Linked DNA regions of Homo sapiens: regions 2, 3, 4 and 5 are each linked to region 1. The links are contacts of gene promoters, found by promoter capture Hi-C in blood cells and fetal thymus (Javierre and others, 2016). All regions are on one chromosome and are shown on one strand. Each heading gives the region's core, a stretch centred on a gene start or on the middle of the fragment in contact. The rest is flanking DNA. Distances are from core to core; before and after follow the strand shown. Region 1 holds the start of ITM2B (integral membrane protein 2B). Region 2 overlaps CYSLTR2 (cysteinyl leukotriene receptor 2). Region 3 overlaps LOC124903174 (a long non-coding RNA gene). Region 4 overlaps RCBTB2 (RCC1 and BTB domain containing protein 2). Region 5 overlaps RCBTB2 (RCC1 and BTB domain containing protein 2).

What was found. Contacts are between HindIII fragments. The CHiCAGO score rates a contact against its expected background, and 5 or more counts as called.
Region 2: a contact is called between a fragment that was not itself captured here and the fragment with the promoter of ITM2B in region 1, in 1 of 17 cell types (monocytes). The highest score is 5.0, in monocytes.
Region 3: a contact is called between a fragment that was not itself captured here and the fragment with the promoter of ITM2B in region 1, in 4 of 17 cell types (total CD4 T cells, non-activated CD4 T cells, total B cells and 1 more). The highest score is 5.9, in total CD4 T cells.
Region 4: a fragment that was not itself captured here is called in contact with the fragment with the promoter of ITM2B in region 1 in 1 of 17 cell types (non-activated CD4 T cells); the score reaches 5.8 in non-activated CD4 T cells.
Region 5: a fragment that was not itself captured here is called in contact with the fragment with the promoter of ITM2B in region 1 in 2 of 17 cell types (total CD8 T cells and non-activated CD4 T cells); the score reaches 5.6 in total CD8 T cells.

The regions. Positions count from the first base shown.
Region 1 is chr13:48,231,953-48,234,461 of GRCh38, reverse strand. ITM2B (integral membrane protein 2B) reads right to left here and starts at 1,256. Exons shown (of 6, transcript NM_021999.5): 1 at 985-1,256. The coding sequence starts at 1,101. RefSeq lists an enhancer at 48-745 and silencers at 801-1,010, 1,021-1,380. The HindIII fragment of the contact is 15,181 bases long and covers 1-2,509 here.
Region 2 is chr13:48,655,524-48,658,032 of GRCh38, reverse strand. All of the region lies in intron 1 of CYSLTR2 (cysteinyl leukotriene receptor 2), which reads right to left. Among named protein-coding and RNA genes, the nearest start is that of CYSLTR2, 2.8 kb to the right of the region's middle. The HindIII fragment of the contact is 3,977 bases long and covers 1-2,509 here.
Region 3 is chr13:48,553,311-48,555,819 of GRCh38, reverse strand. The region is part of intron 1 of LOC124903174 (a long non-coding RNA gene); the gene reads right to left. Among named protein-coding and RNA genes, the nearest start is that of RCBTB2, 21 kb to the right of the region's middle. The HindIII fragment of the contact is 1,277 bases long and covers 615-1,891 here.
Region 4 is chr13:48,515,688-48,518,196 of GRCh38, reverse strand. RCBTB2 (RCC1 and BTB domain containing protein 2) reads left to right here. Exons shown (of 15, transcript NM_001268.4): 5 at 2,456-2,509. Among named protein-coding and RNA genes, the nearest start is that of RCBTB2, 16 kb to the left of the region's middle. The HindIII fragment of the contact is 1,440 bases long and covers 537-1,976 here.
Region 5 is chr13:48,492,958-48,495,466 of GRCh38, reverse strand. All of the region lies in intron 14 of RCBTB2 (RCC1 and BTB domain containing protein 2), which reads left to right. Among named protein-coding and RNA genes, the nearest start is that of RCBTB2, 39 kb to the left of the region's middle. RefSeq lists an enhancer at 1,907-1,986. The HindIII fragment of the contact is 231 bases long and covers 1,140-1,370 here.

The DNA of each region.
Region 1 (2,509 bases), core at 7-2,506:
ACAACAACAAAAAATAAGATAAGCAACATAACTTTACAGTTAATTTCTAATTTTTGCAGCCTAAAAAGGGTCTGGGTAAGAGGCTGTGGGCTTTTTTAACTTATGAGACAATTACACTCATATTTAAGTAAATATGATCGTAACCTACTAAAAGTCAACACAGTAACAGCCCCACTTCATGAATTTTCCTAGGATTAAAGGGAGATTTTGTAAAATAAAGGAGAATTTTATTAGGGACCCGGGGGCAAATTTCTCATGTTTAGTTTCACGCAGCAGGAGTCCTCACAAAGACGCTGATACAATTTAAATGCCAACAATTGGTTTTTCACTAACATCCACATAGTCATTACTGGCCTTTACTAGTAATGGTAAGAGACAGCCCAAACCTACTTCGGGCGGACTGTCCCTTCGTCCCCTCTCCAGGTGAAGTTCACCTGCCACTACCGAAGGGCCGTGGAAAAAGGAGGTAAAGAAACGCTTTTAAAATTAAGACGCTTACAGTTGCTGGACTTAGTCCAAGTGCTGTTCAAGCCTAGAAACGAAAGTGGGAAACAACAGAGGTTTAGGCTTGTAATGATGTCAGCCATTTTAGGTACATTATTTATACTGGGAAGGAAGTGCCAAACTCGGTTGTTGTTGTTGTGCCTGTCGCTGCCGGTCCCCAGATCGAACAAGCCAAGTCCTGGCTGCACGCACGCTCCCCGGACTGCACAAACGACCGGGAATTCGGCACAATTAGCCAATCGTTCCCTCTCCAGGCCTCCCAAGCCCCCGACCCCGCGTCAGGCACCGCTTCCAGCACACGCACTTCCTTACAAAGGAGCTGCGGACCCACAGGAAACGGGAGCGCCGGGCTCTCTCGGGGACTTGTCCCCGCGGCGCGAGCCCCGCGCCCGCCACCTCGGGGCGCACTGCCGCTGCAGTCCGCGCAGCCCTCCCCGGCCGGGCCCAGCACCCGCTTCCTCGACCTCCCCGGGCTCGGACCTTGCAGTCCACCGCGACGGCGTCGGGGGGGATGATGAGCGCCTCCTCGCCGCTCTTGGGCTCGTCCTTCTTGGCCTCCTTCTGGGCCAGAGCGGAGTTGAACGTCACCTTCACCATGGCGCGGCCTGGGGCGCCCTCGAAGGGCGGCGGCGGGCTCGGGGCGCGGGCTGCGGGCTCCCGGCTGCGATTGCAGCCTCTACGGCCGGGCTCCGGGAGCGGCTCCGGGCGGCTGAAGAGGTTCGGGAAGCTCCGCGGCGGCAGAGGCGGCTACTGCGGTAGGGATCTCGCAGCCTCCCAGCTCCCGCGCGAGGGCGGAGACTGCTCGCACATCCCCTGGGAGGCGGGGCGGGGGCGGGGGCGGGGCCAGCGGCCGGGGGTGGGGTGCTGCGCGGGACCCTGCCCTCGCCCCGCAGCTGGGCGCCGGATCCCGGCGCGCCTCGGAGAGGGATGGGTGTCCCTCTGGGCCGCCTGGAATTTCCAGTTCTGAATTCGCTCCCAACCAGGTTACCTCCAGGCCGAGTGCTGCAGGTTTGTAGCGAAATCGAGTGAACTTTCCTGAGTTCGCCGGGTACAAGGGACTAACCTTTGGCAGCACCAGACCGCCGCTTCCCTGTACCCTGTCCCCACCGCGAGCCTAAAGGCCATGGAATTTTTGTGCATCCACATCTTCATTTTCTCACTTATTAGGTAACCGACTCAGTGGAGCACAAACATGTTTAAAGCTCTCTGTCCTTGAGATCTGACTTTATCTTTCACGGACCTCACCCAAGGGCGTTTACCTGGCTCAGACCTGCCTGGTCTTCCTTCCCTCTCTCAGGAGGTCAGGGCCTGTTCTGCCTAGTCCCAGACCAATGTGGAGGAAGCTCTTGGCAGATTTGTATTTCAAACATCTCACACTCGTAAAACGAAATGTTCCACTCTTGTGCGTACTTGGAAAAAAACCACATGCACACTTGGCTGATTTGTGACTCAAAGTACTCGATGACGAGTCCCTTTATTTTTCTGCAAAATGAAAAAATAATTAAGGATAACGCAAAATTCTCATGTTTTGAAGACGTTTCATTTACAACTAATGCGAGGTAGAATACTGGCTCCCGTCGTTACTGCGTTCATTACTGTGTCAACAGACGGCCCCCTTGGACAAATGTGTTATCTTGTATCCTTCCACCCCATTCTGTCCTGGTTCATCCAGAGTTGTGGGTGTGCTCTAGAATGTTACAGCTGTGTCAGCTCTGCCTTGGGCCAACCCTGAAAAAAGTGGGTTCAGTCTGAGATCTTTGGGGATTTGGCCCTGCTCAAGGAGGGAGTTGGGTATTTCCATAGAATGTCAGATCATAAGTCCCAGGGAAACAGCCCAAGATCTCCAAATCCTTCTGTTCATGTATTTCAGAAGCATCCTGGGCTGAGATAGAAACCCAGGCCAGACTTTGAGTTTGCTTTGGGTATTCAGAAATTCCTGTCAAAATGAAATCTGCTCAACCAAGAGGAGGATGAGTTAGGTTCCAGTTCTGGTGAGTTTTAACAG
Region 2 (2,509 bases), core at 8-2,507, 420 kb before region 1:
ATTTACATATCTCTCAGCGAATTTACCTTATTTTTAAGGTAAGACTCAAAATAAAGAGAAACCAGCTTACTTAAAAGAATCTGGGATACAATGTTATTCAGGTGATGGTTACCCTAAAAGCCTTGACTTGACCACTACACAATTTATGCAATCTATACGTCTAATAAAATTGCATGTGTAATCCATAAATTTATACAAATTTAAAATACTTTAAAAATAATAATTTGACAAAAGAGAAAAAAGAATCTAGGATGCCTTCAAATACTCTTTAGATGATTGTTTTTCTGTACTAGAGGTACAAACAAGGTACGATGCTGTTTCTACAGCCTCATGGCAGGAGACTTACGTGGGAAATTATCTTTTTTATAATAAATTCTTATTTATATAATGTACAATGTAGGTAATAATGGTGGACTAAATTATTTTAATTTCTCCCAGCTTAATTAATATTTAAACTTCCAGAGTAAACCAGCTCCCTTCCCCTCTTTTCCTCTCTCCTTTTCCATCTCTTTCCCTCCTCTCCCCTCTCCTCTACTTCCCTCCTTTCTCTCCTTTCTTCTGTTCTTTCTATAGTCTGCTTCCTGTACTTTTTTGAAACCTCTCCGTTAAGGACTTTACACTAAAGAGGCAAAAAAAACTCTGCCTCTGGTCCCAGCTCTTCCTAAGGACCCTTCCGACTTTGGAATTTCTTGACTCCAACTCACTGCTTAGACCCTTATCCTGGGCCTCTCGAATAATAACTAGATTTCTTTGTCAAAAGACTGACTGTACTGCCACAAAGTCATCAATCCATTGGAAGAGGTTTTCCTTTAAATTCTGTCAAGATTATATTTTCTCCATGGGTCAATTAATATAAAGAGGTTAATAAAGTTCAACAGAGATAAACATTAGCTGTAACTAATAAAGTCTGCATTCATTGGGTGAATTGATTTATTTACACAATGCCTTTATTCTCAATGGAGTTTATGTGCTAGGTTCTATGCAATGACTCCAATGTCAGAGTCTTGGTCCAATAGAACATACTGTACATAAGTAACTGCAGTACAAAGGAGGCAGTGGCCAATACCCTGAGAAATAAAGAAATACAGTGCTAGGGGTTTCTGACATGGATTTCAAAAAGCTCTCTAGCAACGCTGAGCACCCACAGCAAAATGCTTGCCTTTCTTTGTATTATCCAATTTGGCTGCCGCATTAGCCAGAGTTCATTGGGTAATTGCACAATCCCTTGTGAGGCTTTTATCTTAAAGGCTTACCCTTGGGGAACTAGAGTGCCTCAGATATCTGGTGCACAGAGCAAACTATAGAAAAGCAGAAAGGATCTTTGATTCTGGAGTACACAGGAAATGCTAACGATGCCCAAGGTAACCATCATGTACTCATGTACACAGCAATGAGTACACTGAAAAAATATATCATCTTTCCTCCAAAATGGAGGCTGCTCATGTGATCCCAGGTGGATAGGAGGCAGAGTGATATAATGAATGAAAGCATGTGCTTTTGAGTTAAAAGGGACCTGGGTTTAAGTTTCAACTCTGCCTTTTAGTCTCTTTTATTACTGCAGCCGTCTGAGCTTCAAACTCTCATCTGCCAAAGGAGCACTGGAGTGAGTATTGATGAAAAAAAAATGGATGTTAAGTGATTAACTTGGTGCCCAACACATGTGAAGAGTTCAGTCAGTACTAGCTAACAATCACAATAAGATTTGTGACAATAATGTACAAAACTCAGATAATTAAACAGGAGCCTTCTTTATGGTCAAGTGAAAGAAGATGGGGCCATTTCATCTGGAGAAGAGCCAACCAGAAACACATGAACAATTCTATTTATTTTTATTACACAAGTAGTACACATTCATGGTAAAAAAAAATTACAATGTAATACAAGCTGAAATAAACTTAAATAATGAACTTTACCACCAACCAGACATAGCTAAAATTTTGCATATATGGTTTTTTTATCTTTCTTGAAATATATACAAATATTTTTGAACAAAAATGAGCACACTTATAATGCTGTTTGTATCTTGCTTTTTTCTTATTTCGTGTCATGATCACCTTTCTTTGCCAACTAACAACATCAATGTCATCATTTAACTGGATACAGAATAGCCAATTATATAAACATTATGAAATTTGTTTAACCAATTTCCCACAATAGCTATTATTTAAGTTGTAAGAAAGGACCATGTGCCCTGGGCTCAACCAGATTGGACCAGTTCTGGTTCCACCTGGGAAAGATCCTATGTTCTCTTGGTCTCATCTTTACCATCTTTAAAATAAGAATTACATCCTCCAGTTCTTAAGGCTAGTATGTGGATCAAATGAACTGATGCCTGTAAACATGTTTTGTAAATAGTAAAGTACTATGTGAATGTTTACATTCATTAAAGAAGGTACTAAACAGGTGTTCTCCACTGAGTCAAAACAAGAAGAAATTAGATTAACATGCTGTTGGTCTCATTGGGATGATTCCTAGCCTGTAGCAGGCTGAGTGCAACAGCAAATGCTTC
Region 3 (2,509 bases), core at 4-2,503, 320 kb before region 1:
AGGTAACTAGTAAAATAATTAAAATAAAGTGTTGAGGGCCCAAGAAAACTTAATAAATCAAATACACTAGAGAAAAGTGATGGTAATAGGGAAAAGTAAAAACAAAGCATAGTAAATGCAAAACACAAAAAAAGATAGCAGACATGAAACCAAACATGTCAGAACTTACAATAAATATAAATGGGTTAAATTAGCTTTTTAAAAGAAAACTTTTTATAAACTATTTAAAAATTAGCTTTTTATAAGAAAACATTCAAATTATAATGACCCAGAAAAATTGAAAGAAAAAAGAAAAAAAAAGAAAAATATACTAGGCAAATACTATACAAAATGAAGATGATGTAGTTAAAGTAATATCAGATAATAGATACTTTAAGAAAAACTTTGGTTTTAGTGATAAAAAGGATTAAGACTTAGTGACAGAAAAAAACAATTGATCAGTAACAAATAATCTTGAACCCATATGCAATGAACAATATAGTCTTATATGCATATAAAGCAAAAAAAATAGGAGAAATTGTGAAAATCTCATTAGGATGGGTGAAAGAGAAGACAGAAGACAGAAAAAATAAGTCAATATATAGAAAAATTGAATAAAATGATATTAACAAGCTTAATATAAGAATACATGAGGAACTCTTACCAACAATTAAAGTTTGGAGCACCTATAGAGAATTTATAAAAACTGAGCACTCTTCTAGGCCACAAAAGAAGTCTTAAAATACAAATTATCAATAGCATACATAATAAACCGGTCACAAGGCAATAAAATTAGAAACTGAAATTTCAAAGTAGTCTGAAAGAAACAATTACAATTAAATTTGAGATGTGTTTAAACCTGAATGACATTCTATGAGTATTGCATTTTAAAACTTATTAATTACAGATAGTGATACTAAGAGGAAAAATTATAGTTTTAAATGTCTACATTTTTAAGATAGAAAATAGATGAGTTAAATGTTCAATTAAAAGTTAGAAAAAAAGAATGGAGTAAACACCCCAAAATTATAATTATATAAGAAAGTCTAAGTAATTCTCTGACAAGATTGATCAAGAAAAGAAGGCACAAATAAACCATATGAAAAATAAGAGTTTAACATAAAGATCATTAAAACTTAACTAAATACTATGAACAACTTCATGATAAAAAGGGCATTTTTGGTTTAATGTAAGTTATGTAAATTGACTCAAGAAGAAATAAAAAACTTGAATAGGTCTATATCCAAGAGTAATATTTTAAAATATTCAACTGATACAGGATAGACAATGACGAAACCAAAGGACAACTAACAAATCCAAACAGACAATTGCTGAAAAAAACTGGTATTGACTTATCATGGGTACTAGATTACTTTCAACCCACTCATAACTTTTGAAAAAATTAATTCAAAGGTTTACAAAATAAACATACCAAGAAACACTATGCCCAGAAGAGTTTACAAACAAGTTTTACCAAAATTTTAAGGGGCAGGTAACTCTTTTTAATATTAGAAATGTTTCTAATAGAGGCCAGGTGCAGTGGCTCATGCCTGTAATCCTAACACTTTGGTAGGCCAAAACAGGCAGATCACCTGAGGTCAGGAGTTTGAGACCAGCCTCGCCAACATGGTGAAATCTCATCTCTACTAAAAATACAAAAATTAGCTGGGTATGGTGGTGCACACCTGTAGTCCCAGCTACTCGGGAGGCTGAGGCAGGAGAACCGCTTGAACCCAGGAGGCAGAGTTTGCAGTTAGCTGAGATCATGCCACTGCACTCCAGCCTGGGCAACAGAGTGAGCCTCCATCTCAAAAAAGAAAAAAGAAATAAATATTTCTAATGGAAAAGAAGACTCATTTCCCCACTTAGAACCAGGCAAGAAAATATAAGAAGGAAAAATTGAATGTAAGCTTATGTATAAATATAGATGCAAATCCTATAAATAAAATTTTAGCAAACTGAATTCAGCAATGTATGCAAAAATGTTATCATGACTTAGAAGCAGAGAGTAGAATGATGGTACTAGATCCTGGGAAGGATAGTGGGAAGAAGGGATGCCAGAGGTTGGTTAAGGAATCAAAAGTACAGTTAAATAGGAGAAATAAGTTCTAGCATTCTATAGCACTATAGGATGACTATAGTCAACAATAATTTATTGTATATTTTCAAACAGCTAGAAAAGAAGATTTTGAATGTTCCCAACATGAAGAAATAATAAATGTTTGAGGTGATGGAGATGGTAATTACCTTGATTTGATCATTACACATTGTATGCATGTATCAAAATATCACCGTGTACCCCATAAATATGTAAAATTATGAGTCAATTAAAAATAATAATTTAAAAAATTATTATGACTAACCAGTTTATCACAGGAATGTAAGGATAGTTTAAGGCATAAAAATATATTAATATAATTTGCCATATTAAAAAATTTTTTAAATATATGATCATCACAATATATGCCCAATAAAAGCATTTAATAAAATTCAACATTTATTCATGATTTTAAAATAAACAAAAAGAATA
Region 4 (2,509 bases), core at 7-2,506, 280 kb before region 1:
TGTGCTGCTGTAACAAATGACTACAATTCAAACAACAGAAATTTCTTTTCTCACAGTTCTGGAGGCTAGAAGTCTGAAATCAAGGCATCATCAGGGCAATGCTCCCTTGATATCTCTCAGGAAGAATCTTCTCAGCTTCTGGTGGTGGCCCCCAGCAATCCTTGCTGCTCCTTGACTTCCAGATGCATTACTGCAGTCCCTGTGTCTGTTGTCATCTGGCCTTCTTCCCTGTGCATCACTGTGTGCCCTCTCGTCTTCTTTTAAGGAGACTAGTCATTGGACGTAGGGTCCACTCTAATCCAGTATGACTCCATCTTAACTCATTACATCTGCAAAGACCCTATTTCCAAACAAAATCACCTTCTGAGGTTCTAGGTGGATTTGGACTTTGGGGGGAAGCCATTCAACCCACTGCAGCTCCTCTCTGGGGTTTCTTCGGGTTTCTCAGAAAACTATCTTTTGAGCTCTTTTTAGCTACAGCATTCAATAGTGCCATGAAGATTATTCAGAAAAGATAGAAACCTGAAAACAAAGCTTTATTTACAAGAAAAAAGCTGGTGGCTCTGCTTGTTTTTGCTTTAGGTCCAGTGGCCATTGGGACAGCTGCTCCGTGCATCCTAGCTTCCCTTTACTGACTGCAAACTTTACTTTGGATACAAGTTAATACTGTTGGCCGTGATCAGAAGGAAACTTAAAAGTTTGAGGACTTAGTAACAAAGTTGTGTTTGATGATATGGCTCAGGTGAAGTAGAAATGGAGAGCTTGGAGCCGAGAGCAGGGATTTGGGGCCCAGTTTTCGGAATGGCTTCCGTGTGAAGGAGTTACAGAGGATGAGATGGAAAGGAGGGCTGTGAATCTGGAAATGAGTCACAGCCATTCATTTACTTGTTCATTAACCAACACAAAGGTAGGTATTGCATTGTTAGCTCCTTTCAAGGGATGGATGACATGGTGGTGAAAGACTCGGTCTCTGTCCTCCTGAAGTGTACTCAGGAGTCTGTGAAGGTGGCCCCAGAGAAATTCATGGTAATGAGGACAGGGGAGGCTTACTAAGTTAATAGTGTGGACTTGAGAAGAGCAGAGTTGCTGACTTGTGCTCTCCTAAGGTGGAAGGGACAAGTAGGTGTTCAGATCTGTAGAAGGTAAGTGGATAGTCCACTCAGTTATACACCAGACCACATTCCCGGTAAGGTTGATTTAATAACTGATGGGAAAGAGAGGCCTTAGAAAATCTTTGTTGCTTTAAATAATGTGTAAGTTTGTTGATGCTGTGGGAAATAGCAGACATGCCATTTGATAGACATATTGGCTGTTTATGTATCTTATTATAACCTACAAAATGTTGGCAAGTTGAAAAGTATATCAATAAAAATGCCTCCTAAGTAGCAAATAGGTAAAACTCTTTCAAACAAATTTATAACTTCCTCTTATAGGAGTGTGGGTGCTCGTGATCTTAATGTATGCTGTTAGGGGGTTAATTGTGACCCTGCAACATTTATGTGTTGAAGTACAGCCAGTACCTCACAGTGCAACTTATTTGGAAATGGGGTCAATGCAGATGTGGTTAGTTAAGATGAGGTCATTAGGGTGGACCTTAATCCAATATAATTGGTGTCCTTATAAAAAGGGGAAATTTAGATGCAGAGATATGCAGGGCATGGGGGGAGATGATGTGAACAGACATAGGGAGAAGACAGCCATCCACAAGCTGAGAAGCACAGCCTGGAAGAGATCCTTCCCTCACAGCCCTCAGAAGGAGCTAGCTAGCTGATACCTTGAGTTTGGACTTCCAGTTTCCAGAACCATAAGACAGTAAATTTCTGTTGGTTAAGCCACCTCGTTTGTCACTACTTTGTTACGGCTGCCTTAACAAACAAGTACACGTGTTTTCTGGGTGTTAATTCCTGTCAACCCCCAAACTTCCTTGAGGGATGAGGAAACCCACCAATTCCTTAAACTGAAGGCCAAGTAAAGCTTGCCCATGAACTAAAACTTCGGACCATTTCCTTGGTGTCACTTTCAGCGTTGTTCTTTACCAAGCATTGTTCTTGACTTAGAGAGCAGATGACATGGCAGCTCTCTCTCTCTCTCTCTCTCTCTGTCTCTCTTGCTTTTACAACCAGCCTAGTTTCCACAGCTACTTTTAAGACATAGCCAATATTTAAAGTATCTGCTGAACATTCAGTTCCCAGAAGCCCAGCTTTGGATGACTCCTGTGTCCTTGAGGACAATGAGTAGGGGAGACCTGGTTCCATCCGGGCCTCCGCTGCTCGATGGCTGTGAGCCGCCCAAAAGCAGCTGGCAGAGGCAATCCCTGCAGCTGCGAGAGGCCTCTCAAAAATGGATGCAGTGTGTTCCTCCCAAAACCAGTGTTCGCCCTCTTCTACAGAACTGAAGGGGCAGAGAAAATTCACTTTTTAATTTGTCATTTCAACATATATTTTTTCCTTTTCAGCCAGTACAGGCTACTCTGTCATCTTTGAAGATGTTAGATGTGGGAAAGTGGCCA
Region 5 (2,509 bases), core at 6-2,505, 260 kb before region 1:
TTTATAAAATGTTAATATCAAGAAATTATGCAGCTATTCAAGATATATCACTAAGTGAAAAACTTATCCTATTTTTATTTTTTGAAAAAGTATAAATAGCTGAATAAAAAACTAAAATTCATTATCTACATAGAAAAAAAGACTGAAAACTATGCTTAGTGGTTATCATTGAATGGTGGGATTGTGGGTGATTTTTATTTTCTTCTCTTTGCTTATTTTTTTTTAACTTTTACAGTGACCATGTATTGTTATGATAATAAAGAAAGGAAAGAAAACCAATCTTAGAACCAAATCTTTAGGAAACAGGCTGTAACATCTTCGAGTCAGTTTCCTTTTGGTATAAGGATATCCTCTCCTTTGGTCAAAGAAAACAGAGACATTTTAGTAGATGAAAGGTTATAACTTTTTTTCTGTTTACATAAATAATACTATGCTTATTAAAGAAAATTTGTAAAAGACAAAAAGTGAGGAAGGTAATGACTCATCAACCAGAGAACATTAGCACTTTCATATAACAGCTTCTGAGTTTTTGTTTTATGTCACATTATATATTTGTAAATACTTGAAACCTAGATTTTTTTTCACTTAACATTAAAAAAAAAGTACTACCTCAAAACAATGACATTTAACAGCACAGTGAATGTTTTATATCAAGGCAATAACATATTGGGCACTTACAACACAGAATGTTTCATGGTCAGACAAAATCCATGCACTTTTCCTAGTCCATTCTTGAGCATCACAGTGATGAGCCACGGTGATGGAGGGCCATCTCAGATGTCAAGATGGTGGCACGTGGTGTTTGCATCTGAATCAGGCTTCATTTTTAATACTTTTTTATATTCTCTATTTATGTGAATTATTTGTCTGGCTACCTTCCAGCTCTCTGTTTTCTAGAAAGTAAGCTCTTTGAGGCATGGCAGGGACTTTGTTTTGCTCACAACCATATCCCCAGCGCCTAGGACGGTGTCTGACACAGAGTAGGTACCTACTAAATACCCCTTTCATGGATGTTCAGTTTTGCCTATAGAGATGCACTGTTGTACTACAGCCTGTCCAGCTAATTGCTGTACCCTAAATTAGTATAATAGACTATAAGTAAAATAGACTGTATATGTACTTAATGTAAAATACAAGCTTTCGTAAATAAAGAACAGTGCTGTATTTGATTTGCCTGGCTCAAATAAGCAAGAAATGGGCTCTTTCAGCAAATTATTATCCCTCATGCTGGACTGTCACTTAGTACATAATTAATATGAGCCAGGGATTATTCTAAGCACAGTTCATGTTTCATTTACTCCTCAAAACAACCTTATATGACATAGGCATTATTATATTAGATCCAGTTTATAAATGAGAAAACTGAAGCTTGGAAAGATTAAGTAATCTGAGTAAACTAGTAAACTGCAAAACTGGGATACAGTCCAAGATTGGGCACATTTTAAAACCGCATGTTTAACTACAATTCTCCATTGTCCTCAGTATTTTGAAATCAGGAGTATTTATGCATGGATTCAACAAATATTCACTGAGTGCCTGCTACATGCCTGGCACTGCCCTACGCACTGGGGTACTGCAAATGAACAAAACAATCCAAAATCTCTGCTCTCATGGGAATTTCTGGTGAGGGGAGATAGGTGATCAATAAATGAATAGGATATATAGTATGTCAGATGGTGACAAGTGATATGGAAAGAAGTAAGACAGGGAAGACAGCCTAGGGAATGCCATCCTGAGATGAAAGTTGAAATTTTAAATAGAATGGTCAGGGAGGCAAGACATCAGTGAGCAGGTGACTCAAGCAGAGACCTGAAGGAGGTGTGGGTGGTGTGTTCTGGGAAAAGCAAGCCCGGTGTGGAGGGAGCACAGTGGGGAGGGAAGTAGCTGATGAGGCAGGGAGATGGTGCGGTGGAGGTGCACAGTGGCGTGTGTGGGAGGAGGCAGGGCCTGCAGAGTCCATAGGCAAGTTTCAGGAATCAGAGTTCCAAGGTGAGTGGCCATCAGAGGGTTTGGAGAGGAGCAGATATGATGGGCATTTGAAGTAATCCTCCTGCCTCCTGGCTGCTGTGTTGAGGAGGGAGGGAGGGAGGTAGGGAGAGAGAGAGAGGGTGAGAGAGAGAAGAGAAGAGAGAGAGAGAGAGAGAGAGAGAGTGTGTGTGTGTGTGTGTGTGTGTGTGGAGAGAGAGAGAGGGTGAGAGAGAGAAGAGTGTGTGTGTGTGTGTGTGTGTGTGTGTGTGTGTGAAGGAGGGTACTTAGGAGGCTGTATAATCCAGTAAGTGATGATGGTGGATTGGTCCAAGTTATCACCTGTGGGGATGGTAAAAAGTGGTTAAGATTTTGAATACATTTTGAAAGTAGAGCCAACAGGATGTGCGGATGGATTAGATGTGAGGAAAAAAAAGACGACTGAGGAGGTTCTGTCCCTCAGCAGCTGTAAGGATGAAAGTGGCATCTATTGAGATATAGAAGATAGGAGCAACATTTTGGGGGAAATATCAGAAATTTGGTT